4 separate regions of the Homo sapiens genome follow, and all the other regions are linked to region 1. Evidence: promoter capture Hi-C in 16 types of primary human blood cells and fetal thymus (Javierre and others, 2016). All regions are on one chromosome and are shown on one strand. Each heading gives the region's core, a stretch centred on a gene start or on the middle of the fragment in contact. The rest is flanking DNA. Distances are from core to core; before and after follow the strand shown.

Evidence for each region. The method cuts DNA at HindIII sites, captures the fragments that hold promoters and counts their contacts. A CHiCAGO score of 5 or more calls a contact.
Region 2: a fragment that was not itself captured here is called in contact with the fragment with the promoter of NCAPD3 in region 1 in 2 of 17 cell types (neutrophils and monocytes); the score reaches 9.9 in neutrophils.
Region 3: a contact is called between a fragment that was not itself captured here and the fragment with the promoter of NCAPD3 in region 1, in 5 of 17 cell types (monocytes, neutrophils, fetal thymus and 2 more). The highest score is 15.5, in monocytes.
Region 4: a fragment that was not itself captured here is called in contact with the fragment with the promoter of NCAPD3 in region 1 in 1 of 17 cell types (neutrophils); the score reaches 6.5 in neutrophils.

Annotation. Positions count from the first base shown.
Region 1 is chr11:134,222,629-134,225,306 of GRCh38, forward strand. It overlaps NCAPD3 (non-SMC condensin II complex subunit D3), which reads right to left and starts at 1,339. Exons shown (of 35, transcript NM_015261.3): 1 at 1,235-1,339. The coding sequence starts at 1,298. VPS26B (VPS26 retromer complex component B) reads left to right here and starts at 2,043. Exons shown (of 6, transcript NM_052875.5): 1 at 2,043-2,678. The coding sequence starts at 2,495. RefSeq lists enhancers at 1,780-1,829, 2,620-2,678 and a silencer at 1,950-2,419. The HindIII fragment of the contact is 9,666 bases long and covers 1-2,678 here.
Region 2 is chr11:125,586,834-125,589,511 of GRCh38, forward strand. The region is part of intron 1 of STT3A-AS1 (STT3A antisense RNA 1); the gene reads right to left. Among named protein-coding and RNA genes, the nearest start is that of STT3A-AS1, 4.4 kb to the right of the region's middle. The HindIII fragment of the contact is 4,824 bases long and covers 1-2,678 here.
Region 3 is chr11:126,205,333-126,208,010 of GRCh38, forward strand. It overlaps RPUSD4 (RNA pseudouridine synthase D4), which reads right to left. Exons shown (of 7, transcript NM_032795.3): 4 at 356-449; 5 at 136-280. Among named protein-coding and RNA genes, the nearest start is that of RPUSD4, 5.0 kb to the right of the region's middle. The HindIII fragment of the contact is 1,248 bases long and covers 627-1,874 here.
Region 4 is chr11:126,227,452-126,230,129 of GRCh38, forward strand. It overlaps FAM118B (family with sequence similarity 118 member B), which reads left to right. Exons shown (of 9, transcript NM_024556.4): 2 at 1,774-1,842. Among named protein-coding and RNA genes, the nearest start is that of FAM118B, 17 kb to the left of the region's middle. The HindIII fragment of the contact is 2,916 bases long and covers 1-2,678 here.

The DNA of each region.
Region 1 (2,678 bases), core at 89-2,588:
AATAGATATGTAAAATGTAAAATGCTACAGAGCTTAATAGGGAATAGTACTGGGGGAGGAGGGAGAGGAATAAGATGATTCTTCAATTGGACCTGAATGTAAGAGTTTTGCCAGGCAAATAAATGCAGAAAAGTGCCTCCCAGCAAGCACAGTGTAACAAAGCACACAAAGGGAAAGAAATTAAAGTGTTTCTAAATGAACAAAATTGTTACAGTGTTTGCTTGTGGGTATTAGTATCTGTTCAGCAGTTATTATGTGGCAAGTACAAATTTATCTTTACAAAAACCCCTGTGAGGTAGATATTGTACTCCCCATTTGACAGATCAGAAAACAGGGGTTTAGCAAGGATAAACAACCTGCACGGTAATACATGGATGCTATGGGGTAGAGCCAAGGGAACAATCCAAGTGTGTCCGACTCCAAAGGTTATGCTCTTGGAAAATCAAACTGGAGAGAATGGCAGCTCTTATAAAGCATGCCAAGGATGTGGTCATTTATTTAGGAAACAAAGGGGAAACATTAAAGGTGTACAGGCTTGACACATTCAAAGCTGTGTTTTCAAAAGTCGTTCTGCAAAAGTGTGGGGGATGGGCTGGCACAGTTAACATCAGAAAGCAGCTAAAATACTCCTGCAATTGCTCGAGGCTATGATGAAGGCAGCAGCATCAGGAATGGAGCGGGGCTGCCCTGAGACACCTCAGAGGCAGGACAGTGGTAGTGGGCATGAAAGGGGAAGCAGAAATGCCATGACTCCTGGGTTGGTGGCTTGGATGGTGCCATTAGCAGGCTTTGGGAATCCCATTTTCACTCATGTGACGTTTGATGATGTCTGCATGTGAGACATCCAGTGGAACCTATGAACATGAAGTTCAAGAAATAAGTCTGGCGGAAGAAAGAGATTTGCAATTTAAAACCATCTTAATAGGTAAGAATAGATAGGTGCACGAAGACACGCACAGGAAGAAGGGGAAGGCCGAGAAAACAGATGCACAGGCGCTAGAAGAGACTGGCCAACATTCGCTTATTCTAAGGGTGGCCTGGCCGGCTTGAGCCCCCACGGGAAACCTGGCTAGCCGCAATCCTGGCGTGGCACGGCCCTGGGGACCCCAGGCACCGCCGACAGCCGGGCGCCCCCACCCCGCCCCCACCGGCACCCCGGCCCGGGCTTAGGCATCGTCGGGGACGCATAGGACCCTCGCCCTGGCCCCCGGGCCTCCCGGCTGCATCTGCTCACCGAGTCTAAGATCCAGCGGACACCAGGGCTGCAGGCCGCTACCAAGGCCCCGCAACGCCACCATGATCCCAGGGCACCGGCTCGCCGCCGCCGTGCTCAACTTTCAAAGCTCGCTCCCGCGCGCGCGCCGAGTCGTTCCTGTGGACCAATCACAACGTACAGAATTTCCCACTGGCCAACCACCGCGCCGAGCCGTTTCCATTCGCTCAACCAATCACCGGCGTCGTCCGCCGCACGCTCAGAGAACTGGGCGGGCCGAAAAGTGGAAGCCAAACAAGGCTCCTGCGGGTGTTCCGCTAATTCGTTCGAGAAGGAGCCAGGGCCTGAGTTAAACCCTAACAGCGTTTTTCCCGCCTCGTTTTTCTTCAATGGGGGAAAATCTAAAGGGTATCTGAGATAGGGTACTTCCGGTAGTAACTGTCACCTTTGCCCTCGTCAGGCGACATTTCGCGTGCGTGTCAAAGGGCTGCCTTTCCCGTCAGCACTCGAACAGCGTAATATCCGAATGTGAAAGGCAGCCCAACGTGTATCGAGCTAAAGTAATAAGGGAAAAGTAGCCGAAAGCACTCCGAGAAGACAAGACAACTGCAGTTCTGTAGGGACTGCGCGGCACGCGTGGGCCCAGAGCCTGTCCCAGCGAGGTAGCAGCTGCCATGCCGACCGCTGGAGCGCCGGCCGCGCTCTCCCTGCGCATGCGCAGCGAGCTCTCCTCCGGGCTGCCGGGAGTCCCAGGAGCGTTAGGGGGTGCGCCTGCGCGCCGCTGCTCCAGCGCATCCGGGCTGGAGCTCGCCCGCCCCCTCCCCCGCCCGGAGCCGCCGAAGCGCCTCGGTGCGTTGCACCGCCGGAGGCTGGGCAGCTCGCAGCGCTGCTCGGCGCTGGACCCCACCCGGCAGGCGCAGGCCACCCACACCCGGCTCTGTGCGGCTGCCCCCCGCAGCATTGCACGGCCGACCCTCGCCCGCCCACTGCCACCGGCCGCGGGACTGGCTGGGACTGGCTCGGCCGAGGGCACTGCTCCTCGGTGCATTGCTGCTCGGGCGCCGCAGCCCGCAGCCGCCAGCCTCCCCCGGCCGTGCCCCTCCCCCGTGGAGCCGGCTGTCCGTCGGCGCCCACTGCCCGGCGGCAGCGGCGGAGCCAGGCAGCCCCGCGGCGGCCGAGCGCGCTCGCGCATCGGGCCCTCTGGCCTTCTTTACCTAGGGCAGCCCGCGCCCCGGTGCGAGGGAGCGGTCCTTACCGAGACCCGCCCGGCCCGGCGGTGCGATGAGCTTCTTCGGCTTCGGGCAGAGCGTGGAGGTGGAAATCCTTCTGAACGATGCAGAGAGTAGGAAGCGGGCCGAGCACAAGACGGAGGACGGGAAGAAGGAGAAATATTTCCTCTTCTACGACGGGGAGACGGTCTCCGGGAAGGTGAGCCTTGCCCTCAAGAACCCCAACAAGCGGCTGG
Region 2 (2,678 bases), core at 90-2,589, 8.6 Mb before region 1:
TGTTAACTGCTCTGCACTTAATAAAAGGATAGCATCTATGAGAGAAAAGGCAACTACAGTTGTCCATTCACTGTCTCCTCATTTTCCACCCACAAATAGTACTTTATTTTCTGATTACAGCAGTAGTACGTTCATTCTGCTCCTTTATGTGTGTTTACCTCCATCATTGAGATTGCTCTGGTGAAGGTTACTGTTCATCAGTAGTGGGGTGGAATAGATAGTTTAGCAGTCATCTCACCTTTTATTCACATATTCTGGGCTGGGTGCAGTGGCTCACGCCTGTAATTCTAGCACTTTGGGAGGCCGAGGCGGGCGGATTATGGGGTCAGGAGATCGAGGCCATCCTGGCTAACATGGTGAAACCCCGTCTCTACTAAAAATACAAAAAATTAGCTGGGCGAGGTGGCACGCGCCTGTGGTCCCAGCTACTCAGGAGTCTGAGGCAGGAGAATCACTTGAACCTGCGAGGCAGAGGTTGCAGTGAGCCAAGATCGCACCACTGCACTCCAGCCTGGGCGACAGAGTGAGACTCCATCTCAAAATAAAAAAAACAAAACGATATTCTGCCAAAGTTGTATAACCTACAGCAGTTAAAAGGAAGCTGACTTCAGGTCAGTGCAATTTACACCTTTGTAACAACGAGAGCCATACACCAGTACAAATTTTGGATGGACCTAAAATGAGTCTGCAGAACCACTGAAGGATCAAGTGAGGGAATTATGACTTAATCACGTAACAAGCATTTGAGCACCTTCTCTGTCAGGTACTGAGCAAGGGACTGGGGACTCAAGGGTGAACCAAAAAGATATGATTACTGCCTTCTAGGACCTGACAGTCCAGTGAGAGAGACTGACAAGCAAATGACTATGCAAAAATTTCAAGAATTACATGATCAGCTATTTTTCCATAGGTCTCAAAGCTGGATAAAACACTGGAATTCAGGGAATCTTTGAGTAAGATGAGCAATTAGCCCATATGTTCAGCCTCTCCTTGTACTCATTCTGATTTCAAATTTAAATATTCTGTAGTGCTTTGAGACCTAGAGAAAGAAAACAATGACCAATTAATCATTTAGGTAAGTTCCTCTAATCATTCCTCTTCACGAGGAATCAACATCGGAATCAGCTCAGCAGCTTTTCCAAAACACAAATAACAACACCTGGCTCTGGAGGAAATTTAAGTAATTATGGAAACAAAAGGTAATTTAAAAAATTCTAGTAACTATTTTCACAGAGATTTCAGAAGCTACTGCATCCATAAAGTAAGAACAGATTTGGCCGGGCGCCGTGGCTCACGCCTGTAATCCCAGCACTTTGGGAGGCCGAGGTGGGTGGATTGCTTGAACGCAGGAGTTTGAGACCAGCCTGGGCAACGTGGTGAAACCCCGTCTCTACAAAAAAATACAAAAATTAGCCGTGGTGGCTCGCACCTGTGTTTTCCACTACTTGAGGGCTGAGGCAGGAGGATCCTTTGAGCCCACGAGGTTGAGGCTGCAGTGAGCTGAGATGGTGCCACTGCACTCCAGCCTGGGTGACAGATGAGACCTTGTCTCAAGGGAAAAAAAAAAAAAAGTGACACTGAAGAGGCTAAATTAGTGAACTGCAAGATAATATTGAGGAAATCTTCCAGAACATACAGCAAAAAGATCAAGAAAAAGTTAAGAATGGTAGAGGTATCCAAGAACCAGGAGATAAAACATTTGTCCAACAGCAACTTCAGAAAATGAGAATAGAAAAATGGAGATGAATAAAATCAAAGAACATTTCCTGAACTGATGATACAAATTGTAGTTTTCAGACTGAAAGGGCCTGCCAAATGTAAAGCAGAAAAAAATGAAAGAAGGTGAAACACATAGATGAAATCTCTAAGGAAAGACAATTTATCAGAGAGGGAAATAGATTACCGATAAAGGAAAGTGACTCAGATTGGTGTCAGGTTTCTTAAGGCACAGTGGATCACGAACAATATAGTCACAGAGGCTTGAAAGTGTGCTTTTATGTGTCTGTGTGCATACGGGGTGGGGTGGGTGGGTCCCAATTTTGTTCCTAAAATTCTAAACCCAGCCATGCTATTAAGGACAAAATACAGATATTTTCTAACACGCAAAGGCAATGTTTGCTTCCATTCAGCCTTTCTAAAACACTTACTTGAAAAAAAATTCATCAAAAGTGAAAAATAAATCTAAGAAATAGCAAGATGTCTTATCAGATGATAATCTATGAAAAAAAAGAAAAAGAACTATGTCTTATTAAGACAAAACACCCAACCAAATAACACGAAACAGTGGAATCCAGAAGTGCATTCAGGGGAAATCCCAGTAATACAACTTTGCACACACGTAGAAACGTGGTTTCTGGAGAGAACAGCTTGGAGAACACAGATACTATTACTCTGGTGTGCTACAGATGAGATGAAGGCATGAGTTTCGTTTGATTAATGATATACAAGAAAGGTAAACTGACGCTTTAAGAAAAATGAAAAGCTCTACGAAAAAGTTCTAACTTCTACATCAAAACATTCCTTTTAAGCAACTGATGAAATAGTAAAAGCATTGTTTTCTGAAACAACCAGTTCAAAACTTTTGGACTTATAAATCAGGAGGGAGGAGGATTAACTGATACACTATAATTCACGTATAAACTGTAGGTTTATTTTCTTTTATTTTGAGACGAAGTTTC
Region 3 (2,678 bases), core at 1-2,500, 8.0 Mb before region 1:
CCCGGCCTCAGATCAGCACCAGAAGCACATTCTCACACAAGTCAGCCACACTACTAGCTGCTCAGAACGAGGCCCTGGACAAAACCTGGTGGCACAGGGTTTTGTGATCCCACTGCGGAAAAGTGACACTCTCACCAGTGATGGGCTGGAGCTCCACGAGGGCGGAGGAGAGAGTGCTGCTGAGCACCTGGTACTGAGTTACAGCAACTTGCGCATTCCGGCTGCGCCGCACTTTCACCATTTTCCCATCGTCCATGCGGTAGCTCGGGGACAATGTCATCTGAAGCCAAAGAAATCAAGATATGATTCCCAAGGAAGAGCAGCAACCCATGCCTCAGGGAGGCTGCTCGCTCACCTTGTGGTGTTGCTGCTGGCCTTGCGCCTCCTTCTCCACAATGGGGATGTCCACGACTCCTGCTGAGGGCATGGGGACATGCACAGTGATGGCCCTGGGGGTGACACAGATCACTGCTTTAGCCAACCAAGCCAGAGAAGAACTCCTAGATTTGGCCACTTAGAGGATTTCACGCTGGACCTTCTGCACTAACATGTGATTTCTTATGATTGAAGGATCGTGCAAGATTCTCTTGGTGTAATGCTTAGCCTGAGAGCTGATAGATTTCACAAGCTTATCTTTTTTACTACTAAAGTCATACATGCTAATTGTAGAATATTTGGGGTAAAAAAAGAAAAAAATTACATTAATAACATGGTCTTTCCAGTCTTTAAAAATGGATATGTACAGTTAAAATAAAATTATGGTAATATAGTTTTGTATTTTTTTTCAAATAATAAAAGATTGTAGATTCTGACTGCATGGTAAATGAACAAATGAATAATTGGATGAATGAACCTAATAAAACATTCAGAGAACCGTTCCTGGCTCATTTGCCACATAGGTAAAACAGGAGGGAACTGTACCCGAAGAAGTCACAGGGGACAGGCGTGGTGGCTCACACATGTAATCCCAATACTTTGGGAGGCCAAGGCGGGTGGATCACTTCAGGTCAGGAGTTCAAGACCAGCCTGGCCAACATGGTGAAACCCCATCTCTACTAAAAATACAAAAAAAAAATCAGCCAGGCGTGGTGGCGCGTGCCTGTAATTCCAGCTACTTGGGAGGCTGAGGCATGAGAATCGCTTGAATCCAGGAGGTGGAGGTTGCAGTGGGCCAAGATTATGCCACTGCACTCCAGCCTGGGAGACACAGCAAGACTCCGTCTAAAAAAAGAAAGAAAGAAGTCATAGGTACCACAACCACAACTCAATAACTCATTCCAAATCACTTCTGTTGGTGTTCTCCCTCCCATGACCTCATGACCTCACAGACAGGTAGAAGACTGTTTAATCTGTCTGTAAATTTATGCCTCTTTCAGGTCAATGATGGAAAAGTCCATCTGGGTACCTGGTGGTCGGTTGTATAATCACTAACCACGGGGTCAAAATCCTACTCACACACACTATTTCACAACGCAGACACTCCACTTCAGTTTCAGCTACTATCTGGTACATTTTATCGTATTTTACAGATTTTGTAGATCTTCTGTGACAAGAATGTCCTTCCTAATGATATGACACTACAACTCAAGAATGTTCCATCAGCAAGACCCAACTGATTGATTTCAATTCCTCCATGAACCTGATACCGAGAATGGTTACCAATTTTGAACCTTAATGGACATTTTTCACAAATAACATAACATGTATTTTATAGTCTTAATATTTTGATTGCTTGAATAGAAAAATAAGTCTCTATTTTTTATTTTTTAACTTTTCCTATGAACTAGGTACTGTGTTAAACATTTCACAAGAATCAATCTTATTTAACTATCTCATAAATCCTACTGTTTCCATTTTTCAGATGAAGAAAACAAAGCTTATGGACATTTAATAACCTGCCCAAGGCCCCACAGCTGTTAAATGACACAGTTGAGAGTTGAACACACATCTTTTTGAGGTCTTAGCTACTGTCCTAAATTCCTCCATTCTCCATAATCTTATCATAGTTCTTAAATTTGATTGTATATCAAATTTTAAAATACAGATGCCAATCCCCACAACCACCACACTTACGAATGAGAACTTCTGTGGGTAAGTCTCAATCATACATATTTTTAAAGGGCTCCTCAGATTCACAAAGTATCTGCAAAATCTGTAATCTAAAAAGGACTAACATTCAAAATATAAAATGAATACTTACAAATCAAATAGAAAAGAATAAACAACCTGGGCCAGACACAGTGGCTCACGCCTGTGAGCTGTAAGCGCTGTAATCCTAGCACTTTGATGGACAGATCACTTTAGGTCAGGGGTTCAAGACCAGCCTGGCCAACAGGCTGAAACCCCATCTCTACTAAAAATACAAAAATTAGCTGGGCATGGTGGCATGTGCCTGTAATTCCAGCTAGCTGAAACATGAGAACCACTTGAACCAGGGAGGAGGTTGCAGTGAGCCAAGATTGTGCCACTGCCCTCCAGCCTGGGTGACACAGCAAGACTCCATCTCAAAAAAAAAAGGCCAGGCACGGTCTTAAATAAAAAAAAATAATAATAATAAACAACCCTGTAGAAAAATAGGCAAAAGAAATAATCAGTCTGTTCCCAAAAGGGAAACTCAAATAGCCAATAAACATGTAAAAAACATGTAAATTGATAGCCAATATCACTGTTATACAAGG
Region 4 (2,678 bases), core at 122-2,621, 8.0 Mb before region 1:
TTTTTAATCCATTATATCTGTCTAAAATGTTGTACACCTGAATGTGAACTCGAAAGTAATTGTGTAATGATGAATGAATGAAGTGAACTTGAGTGACTTTTTTGTACCTCTTCATGTTGTAAAACATTTATTTTCCTTTTAATTCTAAGAATAACTGTAACACGAATCTACTTCATATCTTTCTTATCCTTCTGTTCTTGGTTTTGCTATCAATGGTTTTGGATTCCATGCTCACAATGTGGGGACCTCCAGGATATTTCACCTGGTGCAGCCAAGTGAATTCACTTAATCACTACAGACAGTTACACTTGAGGGTTTTTAATGGTAAAATTTTTTAATTTTCAAAATTTGTTATTTATTTATTTTTGAGATGGGTTCTCACTCTATCACCAGGCTGGAGTGCAGTGGCATGATCATGGTTCACTGCAGCCTTGATTTCCCAGGCTCCAGTGATCCTCCCAACTCAGCCTCCCGAGTAGCTGGAACTATAGGCATGCACTACCACACCTGGCTAATTTTTGTATTTTTGGTACAGATGGGGTTTCGCCATGTTGCTCAGGGTGGTCTTGAACTCCTCAGCTCAAGCATTCTACCTTCCTGAGCCTCCCAAAATGCTGGGATTAGGTGTGAGCCACTGCGCCCAGCCAAAAAACTTGTTTTTAATTTTCAGCTCTATTTAAGTTGGAAATCCTCAAGGAAGTGAAAAGGGGTGAAAATGAAGTGGAATGTATTTACTAAACATTTTTTTTTTTGGTTTTGTTTTTTGAGACAGGGTCTCGCTTTGTCACCCAGGCTGGAGTGCAGTGGCATAATCTCAGATCACTGCAACCTTAGCCTCCTGGGTTCAAGCAGTTCTGCCTCAGCCTCCCTCCTGAGTAGCTGGGATTACAGGTGTGTGCCACCACACCTGGCTAACCTTTGTATTTTTGGTAGAGATGGGGTTTTGCCATGTTGGCCAGGCTGGTCTCAAACTCCTGAGCTCAAGTGATCCTCCTGCCTCGGCCTCCCAAAGTGCTGGGATTACAGGAGTGAGCCACTGGGCCTAGCCCATTTTAATTTTTATGGCAGGAAAGTCTTCCCTTCATTAAGACTTGTCAATTTTTCGTTTGTTTGTTTGTTTTTGTTTTGAGATAGAGTCTCATTCTGTTGCCCAGGCTGGAGTGCAGTGGCATGATCTTGGCTCACTGCAACCTCTGCCTCCCAGGTTCAAGAACTTCTCTGCCTCAGCCTCCCGAGTAGCTGGAATTACAGGTGCCCACCACCACACCCAGCTAATTTTTTGTATTTTTAGTAGAGATGGGGTTTCACCATCTTGGCCAGGCTGGCCTTGAACTCCTGACCTCTTGATCCACCCGCCTTGGCCCCCCAAAGTGCTGGGATTACAGGCTTGAGCCACCCGCGCCTGGCCTCAAATTTTAACTCATAGAGAATATCCTTTATAATGATGGCATCTTCTGGAATGCCCCAGACTTGGAAGAATCTGCATTTGTACGCAGTATGTTGTGTTTACTCTGTTGACATAAAAGTAAGCTACTGAGGGTTATTTCTCATAGGTAACCCACACTATTTTTGTAGTAGAAATTCAATTGTTAAGGACTCACTAGAGTCCTTAAAGAGTTATCTTGCCCTTAAAGAGTTATTCAATTTCATTTTTAATGAATAACCTATGCCATTTATGATGGAATTGTTTGTGTGATCATACTACTTGATCTATGGGAAATATCTGATATTTTAAAAGTCTCCTTACTTAGCAACATGTGTCATTATTTTCAGGATATACCTTCTCAGAAGCTGCACAGGAGGAAAGCAGTGACAAAGAAAGAAGTTGTCATTCTTTGCACGGTAAAATCATCACCTCCAGTCACCAACTTCTAATTCAAATTAGGTTTTAATTTGTTCATTATTTCTTCTTGGAACACTTTTGTTCCCTATACATATGCGTTACTTTGGCTTTATAATAGAAAATAACAAGCAACATCTGAGCTCTTTTGTTTGTTTTTTTGTTTTTTGAGACAGAGTCTCACTCTGTCACCCAAGCTGCAGTGCAGTGGCGCCATCTCGGCTACCTGCAACCTCTGCCTCCCAGGTTCAAGCGACTCTACTGCCTCAGCCTCCCGAGTAGCTGGGATTACAGGCGCCCACCACCGCACCCGGCTAAATTTTGTATTTTTAGTAGAGACGGGGTTTCACCATCTTGGCCAGGCTGGTTTCAAACTCCTGACCTCACGATCCACCCACCTCGGTCTCCCATAATGCTGGGATTGCAGGCGTGAGCCACCGTGTCCAGCCACATCTGAGCTCTTGAGCCTGGAATACCAGTATGATTTATTTTGGGGGCTTAAGTTAAAGGGCATTCTAGAATTTGGGGTTTTTCTTCTCAATCCTTAATGTCTTTCAGAAACCTTACCTCTAGTGAGGTCTTTCTCCTTACCTTGTTCAGATGGGGTCATTGTTTGCTAGTAAAATGGCAAGAACAAGTGGCATCAGTCTGGCATTTCCTCAGTGACTCTGTTAAAGCACATGTTCAGGAAATGAGTGTGATACAGATCTTATCTGACAGAAGGTAGAGGGTCTCAGGCATGCTAAGGGATAAAATTAGGAGCCAATCGAGTTCACCATAGATGAAATATTTCAAGACTGGGATCCACAGAGGAATCAGATCTTGGCACAGCTAGACA